Linked DNA regions of Homo sapiens: all the other regions are linked to region 1. Evidence: promoter capture Hi-C in human tissues and cell types (Jung and others, 2019). All regions are on one chromosome and are shown on one strand. The core of a region is centred on a gene start or on the middle of the fragment in contact, and the rest is flanking DNA. Distances in the headings are between cores, read along the strand shown. Region 1 holds the start of WNT8A (Wnt family member 8A). Region 2 overlaps FAM13B (family with sequence similarity 13 member B). Region 3 overlaps NME5 (NME/NM23 family member 5). Region 4 has its middle 15 kb from the start of FAM13B.

The links. The method cuts DNA at HindIII sites, captures the fragments that hold promoters and counts their contacts. A contact is called where the count stands out against the background at its distance.
Region 2: a contact is called between a fragment that was not itself captured here and the fragment with the promoter of WNT8A in region 1, in 1 of the 25 tissues and cell types used here (hippocampus).
Region 3: a contact is called between a fragment that was not itself captured here and the fragment with the promoter of WNT8A in region 1, in 3 of the 25 tissues and cell types used here (bladder, ovary and spleen).
Region 4: a fragment that was not itself captured here is called in contact with the fragment with the promoter of WNT8A in region 1 in 1 of the 25 tissues and cell types used here (pancreas).

What each region holds. Positions count from the first base shown.
Region 1 is chr5:138,082,605-138,085,304 of GRCh38, forward strand. WNT8A (Wnt family member 8A) reads left to right here and starts at 1,429. Exons shown (of 5, transcript NM_001300939.2): 1 at 1,429-1,679; 2 at 1,894-2,032. The coding sequence starts at 1,524. The HindIII fragment of the contact is 19,757 bases long and covers 1-2,700 here.
Region 2 is chr5:138,022,732-138,025,431 of GRCh38, forward strand. The region is part of intron 1 of FAM13B (family with sequence similarity 13 member B); the gene reads right to left. Among named protein-coding and RNA genes, the nearest start is that of FAM13B-AS1, 8.7 kb to the right of the region's middle. The HindIII fragment of the contact is 7,268 bases long and covers 1-2,700 here.
Region 3 is chr5:138,118,991-138,121,690 of GRCh38, forward strand. All of the region lies in intron 4 of NME5 (NME/NM23 family member 5), which reads right to left. Among named protein-coding and RNA genes, the nearest start is that of NME5, 19 kb to the right of the region's middle. The HindIII fragment of the contact is 8,485 bases long and covers 1-2,700 here.
Region 4 is chr5:138,046,949-138,049,648 of GRCh38, forward strand. It overlaps a transcript of FAM13B not described here. Among named protein-coding and RNA genes, the nearest start is that of FAM13B, 15 kb to the left of the region's middle. The HindIII fragment of the contact is 5,141 bases long and covers 1-2,700 here.

The DNA of each region.
Region 1 (2,700 bases), core at 179-2,678:
TATGGTGGCTCACGCCTGTAATCCCAGCACTTTGGGAGGCCGAGGCAGGTGGATCACGAGATTAAGAGATCGAGACCATCCCGGCCAACATGGTGAAACCCGTCTCTACTAAAAATACAAAAATTAGCTGGGCATGGTGGCGCACACCTGTAATCCCAGCTACTCCGGAGGCTGAGGCAGGAGAATTGCTCGATCCCAGGAAGTGGAGGTTGCAGTGAGCCGAGATCATGCCACTGCACTCCAGCCTGGCGACAGAGTGAGACTCCATCTCAAAATAAATAAATAAATAAATAAATAAATAAATAAATAAATAAATAAAATAAAATAAAAGACAGATTCCCACCTAAGGAGCTGAAGTCCTAGTAACAAAGTAGTATCAGAAAGAAAGGCATCAGGGCCACGCCCAGTGGCTCATGCCTATAATCCCAGCATTTTGGGAGGCCAAGGTGGGCAGATCACTTGAGCCCAGGAGTTCAAGACCAGGCTGGCCAACTGGCGAAACCCCTTCTCTACTAAAAATACAAAATTTAGCTGGGTGTGGTGGCTGGCACCTGTAGTCTCAGATACTTGGGAGGCTGAGGTAGGAGAATCACTTGAACCCAGGAGGCAGAGGTTGTAGTGAGCTGAGATTGCACCACTGCACTCCAGCCTGGGCGACAGAGCGAGAGACTCTGTCTCAAAAAAAAAAAAAAAAGAGAAAGGCATCAGTCTTCCCAAATATAACCCTGGGTGGCCCTAAGGTTGGTTCTCAGATATATAAAAAATCAACTAACTGGAGTTGTAACCCTCAGATATAAAAGGATAGATTTGCTAGGAATTAAGGAAATTTCCCAGCAGTTGCTAGAATGTGGTGGAAGGGACTGTTGCAGAGATGGACTCTGAAGTGTTCCTGCTCCATAGTCCCACAGCTCCATCACCTCACAGCCTTGAAGGAAGTGGTAGGGATGGCGCACTCACTGGTTTAGGTAAATGAGTAGGAAGCAGCCCCAGATGGAGTTGCTTTATGATTATTAACACCTTGGGGAGGATGGCAGGACAGAGAGTGGGCTCTCACTGACAGATGAGGACACTGTAGCTCCAAGAATAGGTGACCTGCCTTCAGGGTTAAGGACCCAGCCTGCTCTGGCCTACATGATTCTGAGAAATGGGCCAAAGAAGCAGGAAGAGACAAAATTGACATATAGAAGAAAGAAATCTCACGTATAGGAGAAAAGCAGCCTCCTTCTCATTCTGGGAGGGAAGAAGGGCTGGAGGGGCTGGGCAGGGCGGGGCTTTTGGCGAAAACTGAGTCCCTCCTCCCAGATCCCCCACTGGGCCGGTGGCTCCTGCAGCCCTGCCAGTTAGGAACAAATGAGAAGAGCTGCTGATTTCCTCCCTTGGACATTCAGAATTTTCTCACATAAATACTGAGGAAGACCCTGCCCTCTCCTCACTTCTCTGGACTTGGCCCTGAGCTGGACCTGGTCCACTGGGGTAGGCAGGGCGATGGGGAACCTGTTTATGCTCTGGGCAGCTCTGGGCATATGCTGTGCTGCATTCAGTGCCTCTGCCTGGTAAGTCCTTTCCCAACCCTCACTCCTTGCCAAGGAGGCCCCCATTGTCTCATCCCCATTCACCTCTGCCTCACTTTTTCTCTTTTTGGTAGGTCAGTGAACAATTTCCTGATAACAGGTCCCAAGGTAGGATGATCTCCAGCTTCTGTTTTTACCCACTGAGGGCCCTAAGGGGACTCTTCTGGAGAAAAGAGGGGCGGGGACAGTGCCAGAGCCCCTCACCCAGAGGAACCCATGGTTGATTCTTAATGGAGAGCTGGCCCATCTGAGTCCTGCCTGCTCCCCCAACCACAGATGACCCATACCGGGCAGAAGCTCACAGCCCTTTTCCCTTTGCCAGGCCTATCTGACCTACACGACTAGTGTGGCCTTGGGTGCCCAGAGTGGCATCGAGGAGTGCAAGTTCCAGTTTGCTTGGGAACGCTGGAACTGCCCTGAAAATGCTCTTCAGCTCTCCACCCACAACAGGCTGAGAAGTGGTAAGTTTGTGTGGGACTCACCTGTACAAGGGGTATATATGTGAATGGAGTGGGGCTTGCAGTATGTGTATATGTGTGACATGTATTGCACAGTGAAATAAAAATGCTGCCAGTGACCTGCTGACCTGCCATTTCCTTGCTGTGTGGCCTTGAGTAAATTACCTACCCTCTCTCAGCCCCAGATTTGTCATTTGGGTCAGTAAGGCCAGTTCTGTTTAGTTCATCAGAAGTATCCTATGGGTTGAATGAGGTGGGTATGAGGTGTCTCTATGTATGAGATAAATGTAGGAAATTACTCTTTTTTTTTTTTCTTTTTTTGAGACGGAGTCTCACTCTGTTGCCCAGGCTGGAGTGCAATGGCGCAATCTCGGCTTACCGCAACTTCCGCCTCCGGAGTTCAAGTGATTCTCCTGCCTCAGCCTCCCGAGTAGCTGGGATTACAGGCATGCAACATGCCTGGCTAATTTTTTGTATTTTTAGTAGAGATGGGGTTTCACCATGTTGGCCAGGCTGGTCTCAAACTCCTGACCTCAGGTGATCCACCCACCTCAGCCTCCAAAAGTGCTGGGATTACAGGCGTAAGCCACCGTGCCCAGCGGAAATTACTCTATTTTTTAAATGCATGCCTATATTTGTGCGTTTGTACACACTGATCTTGCACTGAGTTG
Region 2 (2,700 bases), core at 195-2,694, 60 kb before region 1:
ACTCACTACAAAAGTCTGTCAGGGAGCAAGTTTTATACATCACTAAAATGGCTACTCAGTGTTTAGAATGCCTTGTTAATGAAATCAAGAAGCTATTTTCTTTTTTTTTTTTTTCGAGACAGGGTCTCACTCTGTCACCCAGGCTGGAGTGCAGTGGTGCAATTATGGCTCACTGCAGCCTCAAACTCCTGGACCCAAGCAATCCCCTGCCTCAGCCTCCCAAATTGCTGGGCCTACATGTACACACCACCATACCCAGCTGTATTTTTAGTAGAGAGGAAGTCTCATGTTGCCCAGGTTGGTCTCAGACTCCTGGCCTCAAGCAATCCCTCCCACCTTGCTGGGATTACAGGTGTGAGCCACTGCTCCCAGTCAGGAGCCTATTATCTCATCTCATGACCTCTACTACCTGCAACCTCTAACTAGACAACCTGAAAGCATATTTTTCTAAGGTGAGGCTGGGTAGGAATCTATGAATTCATCAGTAAAAATTTACCCTTGATACTAGGAAAACAATCGGAGGCATCAACCTTTCTGACGACAAGTTTCTCTTTCTCCTGAGGATGTTGACGGATATAGCAGCAACAAACATTAAATGAGCAGTTATGATATGCCAGGCAGTTCCATGCACTTTACATGTATTAAGGTATTCTTTAACCCTTAATTAGACATTGCAAGGCTCACCAATTTACCCACAGTCCACCCAGATAATAAGGGTCAGAGGCAGAATATGAAACCAGAGAATGTGATTCTCAAAGTCCTTGAGCTCTTAATCACTATACTATTTTTTCATGTAAATTATCACAATTTATAGTATGATAGAATGTCACATTCTGGCGCTCAAACTGGCCATAGTCTTTTTCTTTTTTTGAGACAGGCTGGAGTACAGTGGCATATGCGATCACAGCTCACTGCAGCCTCAACCTCCCCAGACCTACGTGATCCTCCTACCTCAGCCTCTTGAGTAGCTAGGACTACAGGCGTGGGCCACCACACCCGGCTAATTTTTGTAAAAATGAGGTTTCACCACATTGCCCAGGCTGGTCTTGAACTCCTGGGCTCAGGCAATCCACCCACTTCAGCCTCCCAAGGTCCTGGGATTACAGGCATGATCCACCATGCCCGGCCTCAAAGTCTTATATACATTTTAGGTCATCACTTACTTCTAGCTTGCGAACAGGTACTTCCAGAGGGCAGGCCTATGGTCCAAACCCCAGGAGCCAATCTTTCACTTGGGACTTGTATCTAGAGCACATTGCTGAGAACTCTCAGACTGGAGAGTGGCCCAAGGTAACATTTCTGCAAACTGCAAAGTAGTTGACATTATTTAGTCCTGTTTCCTACCCCTTTTCAGAGCTTAAATCACATAAATATTCCCTTCACATCTGTGGTGGGTTGAATAGTGTCCCCCCCAAACCTCATGTCCACCAAGAACCTCATAATGTGACTTTATCTGGAAATAAGGTCTTTGCAGGTGTAATTAGTTAAGGATCTCAAGAGGAAATCATCCTAGATTTAGGGCAGGCCCTAAATCCAATGACTCATGCCCTTATAAGAAGAGGACAAGATACACAGAGACACACAGAGAGAAAGAAGAGCATGTGAAGACAGGGAGAAACTGGAGTTATGCTGCCAGAAGCCAAGAAATGCCAGGAACTACCAGAAGCTGGAAGAGGCAAAGAAAGATTCTCCCCTAGAATCTGCCCTGTGGACACTTCCTTTTGGGCTTCTACCCTCCTCAACTGTGAGAAAAAACTTCCTACTATTTTAGAGCCACCTAGTTTGTAGCAATTTGTCATGAAAGTCCTAGAAAATGAATGCAACACCTAAACTACAATATTACATTCTAAAAAAAAAAAAGAAAAAAAAGGAAAACAGCAGCAGGCACCGTACAAAAATATACCAAAAAGATCTAATAAAATGTCCTAGCAGATAGAATCAATAAAATGTCGAGAAAGCAGTTCAATAAAAGGATTGACACAAGAGAATACAATGTGTGGACTTTCAAAATAACCAAGTATTTCCAAAAGCATACTGTTATAAATCTAAACAGCAAAATTTATACACACACACACACACACAGAGAGAGAGAGAGAGAGAGAGAAAGAGAGAGAGAGAGAGTTTTTTGAGTTTGTTTTTTTTGTTTGTTTTTTTTTTGAGACAGAGTCTTACTCTGTCACCCAGGCTAGAGTGCAGTGGCATGATCTCAGCTCACTGCAACCTCTGTCTCCTGGGCTCAAGCGATTCTCGTGCCTCAGCCTCCTGAGTAGTAGAGATCATAGGCACGTGCCACCATGCACGGCTAATTTTTTTGTATTTTTTGGTAGAGATGGAGTTTCACCACGTTGGCCAGGCTGGTATCGAACTCCTGACCTCAGGTGATCTGCACACCTCGGCATTACAGGCATGAGCCACCACTCCCAGCCCCAAACAGCAAAATTATTTTAAATACAAGTGACAGTTGCCTAGCATGGTGTTATTGACAAGGAATAGGAAATTACATTGAATTTTACATCATATACCTCACCATGAGATAACAGTGATTACAAACAAAGCCATATATATATATATATATATATGTATTTTTTTTTTTTTTTTTTTTGAGTTGAGGTCTCACCCTGTTGCCCAGGCTGGAGTACAGTGGCCCAATCATGCAGCCTCAAACTCCTGGGCTCAAGCAAACCTCCCACCTCAGCCTCC
Region 3 (2,700 bases), core at 153-2,652, 36 kb after region 1:
AATCATTAAAAAGGTTCTTTTTAAAGAACTTTTCTCTATTTTTTTATATGTTTTTTTGAGATGGAGTCTTACTCTGTTGCCTGGGCTGGAGTGCAATGATGCAATCTCAGATCACTGCAACCTCCTCCTGGGTTCATGTGATTCTCCCACCTCAGCCTTCCGAGTAGCTGGGACTACAGGTCCGCATCACCACACCCTGCTAATTTTTGTATTTTTATTTATTTTTATTTTTTGAGACAGAGTCTCGCTTTGTTGCCCAGGCTGGAATGCAGTGGCACAATCTCAGCTCACTGCAACCTCCAACTCCTGAGTTCAAGTGATTCTCCTGCCTCAGCCTCCTAAGTAGACAGGAGTGTGCCACCATGCCTGGCTAATTTTTGTACGTTGAGTAGAGGCAGGGTTTCACCATGTCGGCCAGGCTGGTCTCAAACTCCTGATCTAAGGTAATCCTCCTGTCTCGGCCTCCCAAAGTGCTAGGATTGCGGGCATGAGCCACCATGCTCGGCCCTAATTTCTGTATTTTTAGTAGAGATGGGGTTTCACCATGTTGGCCAGGCTGGTCTTGAACTCCTAACGTCAAATAATCTGCCTGCCTCAGCCTGCCAAAGTGCTGAGATTACAGGCATGAGCCACTGCAACCAGCCTGTTTTCTTTTTCTTTTCTTTTCTTTATTTTTTTTTTTTTGAGACAGAGTTTCACTCTTGTCACCCAGGCTGGAGTGCAGCAGCACAATCTCAGTTCACTGCAACCCCGTCTCCCAGGTTGAAGCAATTCTCCTGCCTCAGCCTCCTGAGTAGAACCAGCCTCAGTTTTCAGTTGGGATGTTTCTCTTATTATTTAGACATAGGAGTTCTTTATATATTCTAGTTACAAGTTCTTTATATTATTTGGTGATATTTTTTCCCAGTCTGTTGCCTACCTATCTTTTCATATTTTTAAAAATTTAACTTCTATTTTTTTTTTTGACACAGGGTCTTGCTCCGTTGCCCAGTCTGGAGTGTGGTGGTGTGAGCACAGCTCACTGCAGCCTCGAACTCCTGGGCTGAAGCATCCTCTGGCTTCAGCCTTCCAAGTAGCTGGGCCTGCAAGTGTGTGCCACCACACCCAGCTTTTTTTTTCTTTAAGTGTTTAGAGACAGGGTGTCACTCACGCTGGTCTCAAACTCCTGGCCTCAAGCAATCCTCCCACCTCAGCCTCCTGAATAGCTGGATTTACAGGTGCAAACCACTGCTCCCAGCTCTTTTTTTTTTTTTTTTTTTTTTGAGACAGAGTCTTTCTCTGTCGCCAGGCTGGAGTGCAGTGCCGCGATCTTGGCTCACTGCAAGCTCCGCCTCCTGGGTTCACGCCATTCTCCTGCCTCAGCCTTCTGAGTAGCTGGGACTACAGGTGCCCGCCACTAATTAGTCCGGCTAATTTTTTTGTATTTTTTAGTAGAGACGGGGTTTCACCATGTTAGCCAGGATGGTCTTGATATCCTGACCTTGTGAGCCGCCTGCCTCGGCCTCCCAAAGTGCTGGGATTACAGGCATGAGCCACCGCGCCCAGCCTCTTTTCACATTCTTAATGATGTCCTTTGAAGCACAAAAGCTTTTAATTTGATTTAGTCCAATTTATCAATATTTTCTTTTATGGATCTTGCTTTTGATGTCATTTTAAGAAGTCTTTGTCCAACTCCAGTTACAAAGATTTTCTTGTTTTCTTTTAGATGTTTTTACATTGAAGTCTGTGATCCATTTTGAGTTAATTTTTGTGTATGCTATGAAACAAGGGTCTAAGTTCTTTTTGTTTTTATGTGACTATCATGCTGTCCTAGCACCATATACAGACTTTCCTCAATTTACATGGGTTACATCCCAATAAACCCATCATAAGTTGAAAGTATCAGTAAGTCAAAAACACATTTAATACACCTAGCCTATTGAACATCATAGCATAGCATAGCCTACTTTAAATGTGCTCAGAACACTTACATTAGCCTACAGTTGGGCAAAATCATCTAACACAAAGCAAATTTTATATAAATAACATTTTCTATATAATATACATATATTATGAGCTGGGCACAGTGGTTCACACTTGTAGTCCTAGCTCCTTGAGAGGCTGAGGCAGTAGGATTACCTGAAGCCATGAGTTTGAGACCATCTGGGCAACAAAGCAAGACTCTGTCTCTTAAAAAAAAAAGATATATATATATATCATTTTTGGGGGAGGATCTCTTGAGGCCAGGAGTTCAATACCAGCCTGGGCAATATGGCGAGACTGCCTTTCTACAACAAAAAAATTCAAAAAGTAGCCAGGCATGGTGGTCTATGCCTCTAGTCTCAGCTACTCAGGAGGCTAAGGTGGGAGAATGCTTGAGCCCAGGAGGTCAGGCTGTAGTGGGCACCACTGCACTTCAGCCTGGGTGACAGAGAGACACCCTGTCTCAAAAAAAAAGGAAACCAAAATAGAATGGTTGTATGGATACTCGCCATTAATGTACACAGCTGAAAGCACCATAGTAAAGTCAAAAAACTGTAACTTGAACCATGGTAAGTTGGGGACTGTATTGGCAAGACCATCCTTTTCTCACTGAATTGTCTAGGCACCTTTGTTGAAAGTGAATTGACCATAAGTGTAAAAGTTTACTTCTAGATCCTCAATTCTGTTCCAATAATCTATATGTGTATCTTTATATCACTGTCATACCGTCTTATAATT
Region 4 (2,700 bases), core at 36-2,535, 36 kb before region 1:
TTGGCCAGGCTGGTCTTGAACTCCTGACCTTATGATCCACCTGCCTCGGCCTCCCAAAGGGCTGGGATTACAGGCGTGAGCCACCGTGCCCAGCCACTTCTTTTCACTTACTCAGAAAGCAACTCAAGCTTGACAGATATGGAGTGAGCTATCTGTAGAGAAGAAACAAAAGAACAATCATTTTTAGTTGGGGGGCAGAACAAGCATGTGGCAAAGTACTACATAAAGATGGCTAGTGTAGGCAGAATAATGATGTCCCAAAGATGTCCACATTCAGACCGGGCGCGGTGGCTCATACCTGTAATCTCAGCACTTTGGGAGGCCGAGGCGGGTGGATCATGAGGTCGGGATATCAAGACAATCCTGACTAACAGGGTGAAACCCCACCTCTACTAAAAAAAAAAAAAATTAGTAGGGCGTGGTAGCACACGCCTGTAGTCCCAGCTACTCAGGAGGCTGAGGCAGGAGAATTGCTTGAACCCAGGAGGCAGAGGTTGCAGTGAGCCGAGATCACACCACTGCACTCCAGCCTGGTGACAGAGCAAGACTCCATCTCAAAAAAAAAAAAATGAAGATGTCCACATTCTATTCCCTAGAACCTGTGAATATGTTACGGCACATAACAAATGGGAATAAAGGTTATAGGCAGAATTAAAGTTGCTCAACTGACCCAGAGATGGGGAAATTATCCCGGATTATCTGGGTGGGCCCAATGTAATCACACAGGCCTTTATAAATGGAAGAGGAAGGCAGAAGACACTGGAGTGACTGGGTATGAGAATAACTCAATCTGCCATTGCTGGCTTTGAAAGTGAATGGAGGCCATGAACCAGGGAATGTGGACCACCTCTAGAAGCTAGGAAAGGCAAGCAAACAGATTCTTTCCTATAGACCCCTAGATATTCCTCTAGGGGCCTGACTTTAGCCCAGTGAGACCCACGTCAGACTGCTGACCTACAGAACTATAAAATAATACATTTGTATTGTGTTTTTAAAAAATTTTAAATAACCTTTTTATTTTAGAATAACTTTAGGTTTACAGAAAAGTTGCAAAAGATAGTACAGAGAGTTCCAAGTTTCCCCTAATGCTAGTACCTAATGCCTTTTAAAATAGAAAGAAAGAAAAAAGAAAGAAAGAAATCCAAAAAAACAAAAAACAAAACTCTAGAGCAGTTTTAGGTTTACAGAAAAATAAAGCAGAAAGTACGATTTCCCATATACCCACTGCCCCACACATACAAATCTGTGTGTTTGAGCCACTAAGTTTGTGGTAATTTGTTATAGCAATTAAAAACAAAACAAAACACTAATACAACGCCAAATGGCACTTTGGAGTACAGGGAAAGAGAGGTAGGTAATTTAGAGATGCATATATACATGGTAAAACACTAAAGAAAAATAATAATCCAAAATTCAATATAATTGTTACTTATAGTGGAGGGTACAGAACTTATAGGTGTGACCCCGCACCCCTAGGACACAGTACACTAGCCTATAAGAGGCCTCTATGTGAACTAGAAAAAAGAATTGTTTTCTGAGCAGATAATTAGAAAAATGACATATCCACTGGGTAGGAACCAGCCTATGGACCCTCAGCCTAGCACCAGGTGGTGTCTTTGTACCCAAGGAAAAAGCTCCATTTTTTAGGAGGCAAATCCCTCTCCCCTTGGTAAGGCACCTTTTTGCAGTGGCCAAATTGTACCAGCATGCTGGCCGACCCCTAGGACCTTCAGAGCTTTTGTAACATTCTAATTCTCAAGCCAAGTAGAAGGTATATAGGGTTTGTTTTTCATAATTATTTTGCAAATTGTATATATGCATTACATGCTCTTTCTCATATATTCACAATATTTTTAAAAGTATTCAGCAATGTGATGAAATATAGCATCATTGTACCCCATGCAGACCTTTGCCACTACCTCAATGTCAGTCTCCTTCTGACTACAATCTAAAAATCAGAGAATTCTGAAGGACATTAGAGTGATACATTTCTTTTTTTTTTTTTTTTTTTTTAAGGCGAAGTCACTCCTTTGCTCAGGCTGGAGTGCAGTGGTGAGATCTTGGCTCACTGCAACCTCCTCCTCCCAGGTTCAAGTGATTCTCGTGCCTCAGCCACCCGACTAGCTGGAGTTACAGGCGTGCGCCACCGCGCCCAGCTAATTTTTGTATTTTTAGTAGAGACGGGATTTTACCACATTGGCCAGGCTGGTCTCGAACTCCTGGCCTTAAGCAATCTGCCTGCCTGGGCCTCCCAAAGTGCTGGGATTACAGGCGTGAGCCACTGTGCCTGGCTTCAGAGTGATACATTTCTTGTTTTGTTTTTGTTTTTGTTTTTTCCTCAAGATAGAGTTTTGCGCTGTTGTTGCCCAGGCTGGAATACAATGGCGTGATCTCGGCTCACTACAACCTCTGCCTCCCGGGTTCAAGCGATTCTCCTGCCTCAGCCTCCTGAGTAGCTGGGACTACAGGCGTGTGCTACCACGCCCTACTAATTTTTTTTTTTTAGTAGAGGTGGGGTTTCACCCTGTTGGTCAGGCTGGTCTTGAACTGCTGACCTCAGATGATCCACCCACCTCTTCCTCCCAAAGTGCTGGGATGACAGGCGTGAGCCACCGTGCCCGGCCTAGAGTGATACATTTCTTAACTCCATGAAACCTCTTTTCATTTGGAGTAAGTTACCAAGCAAAACAGGATTTTCCA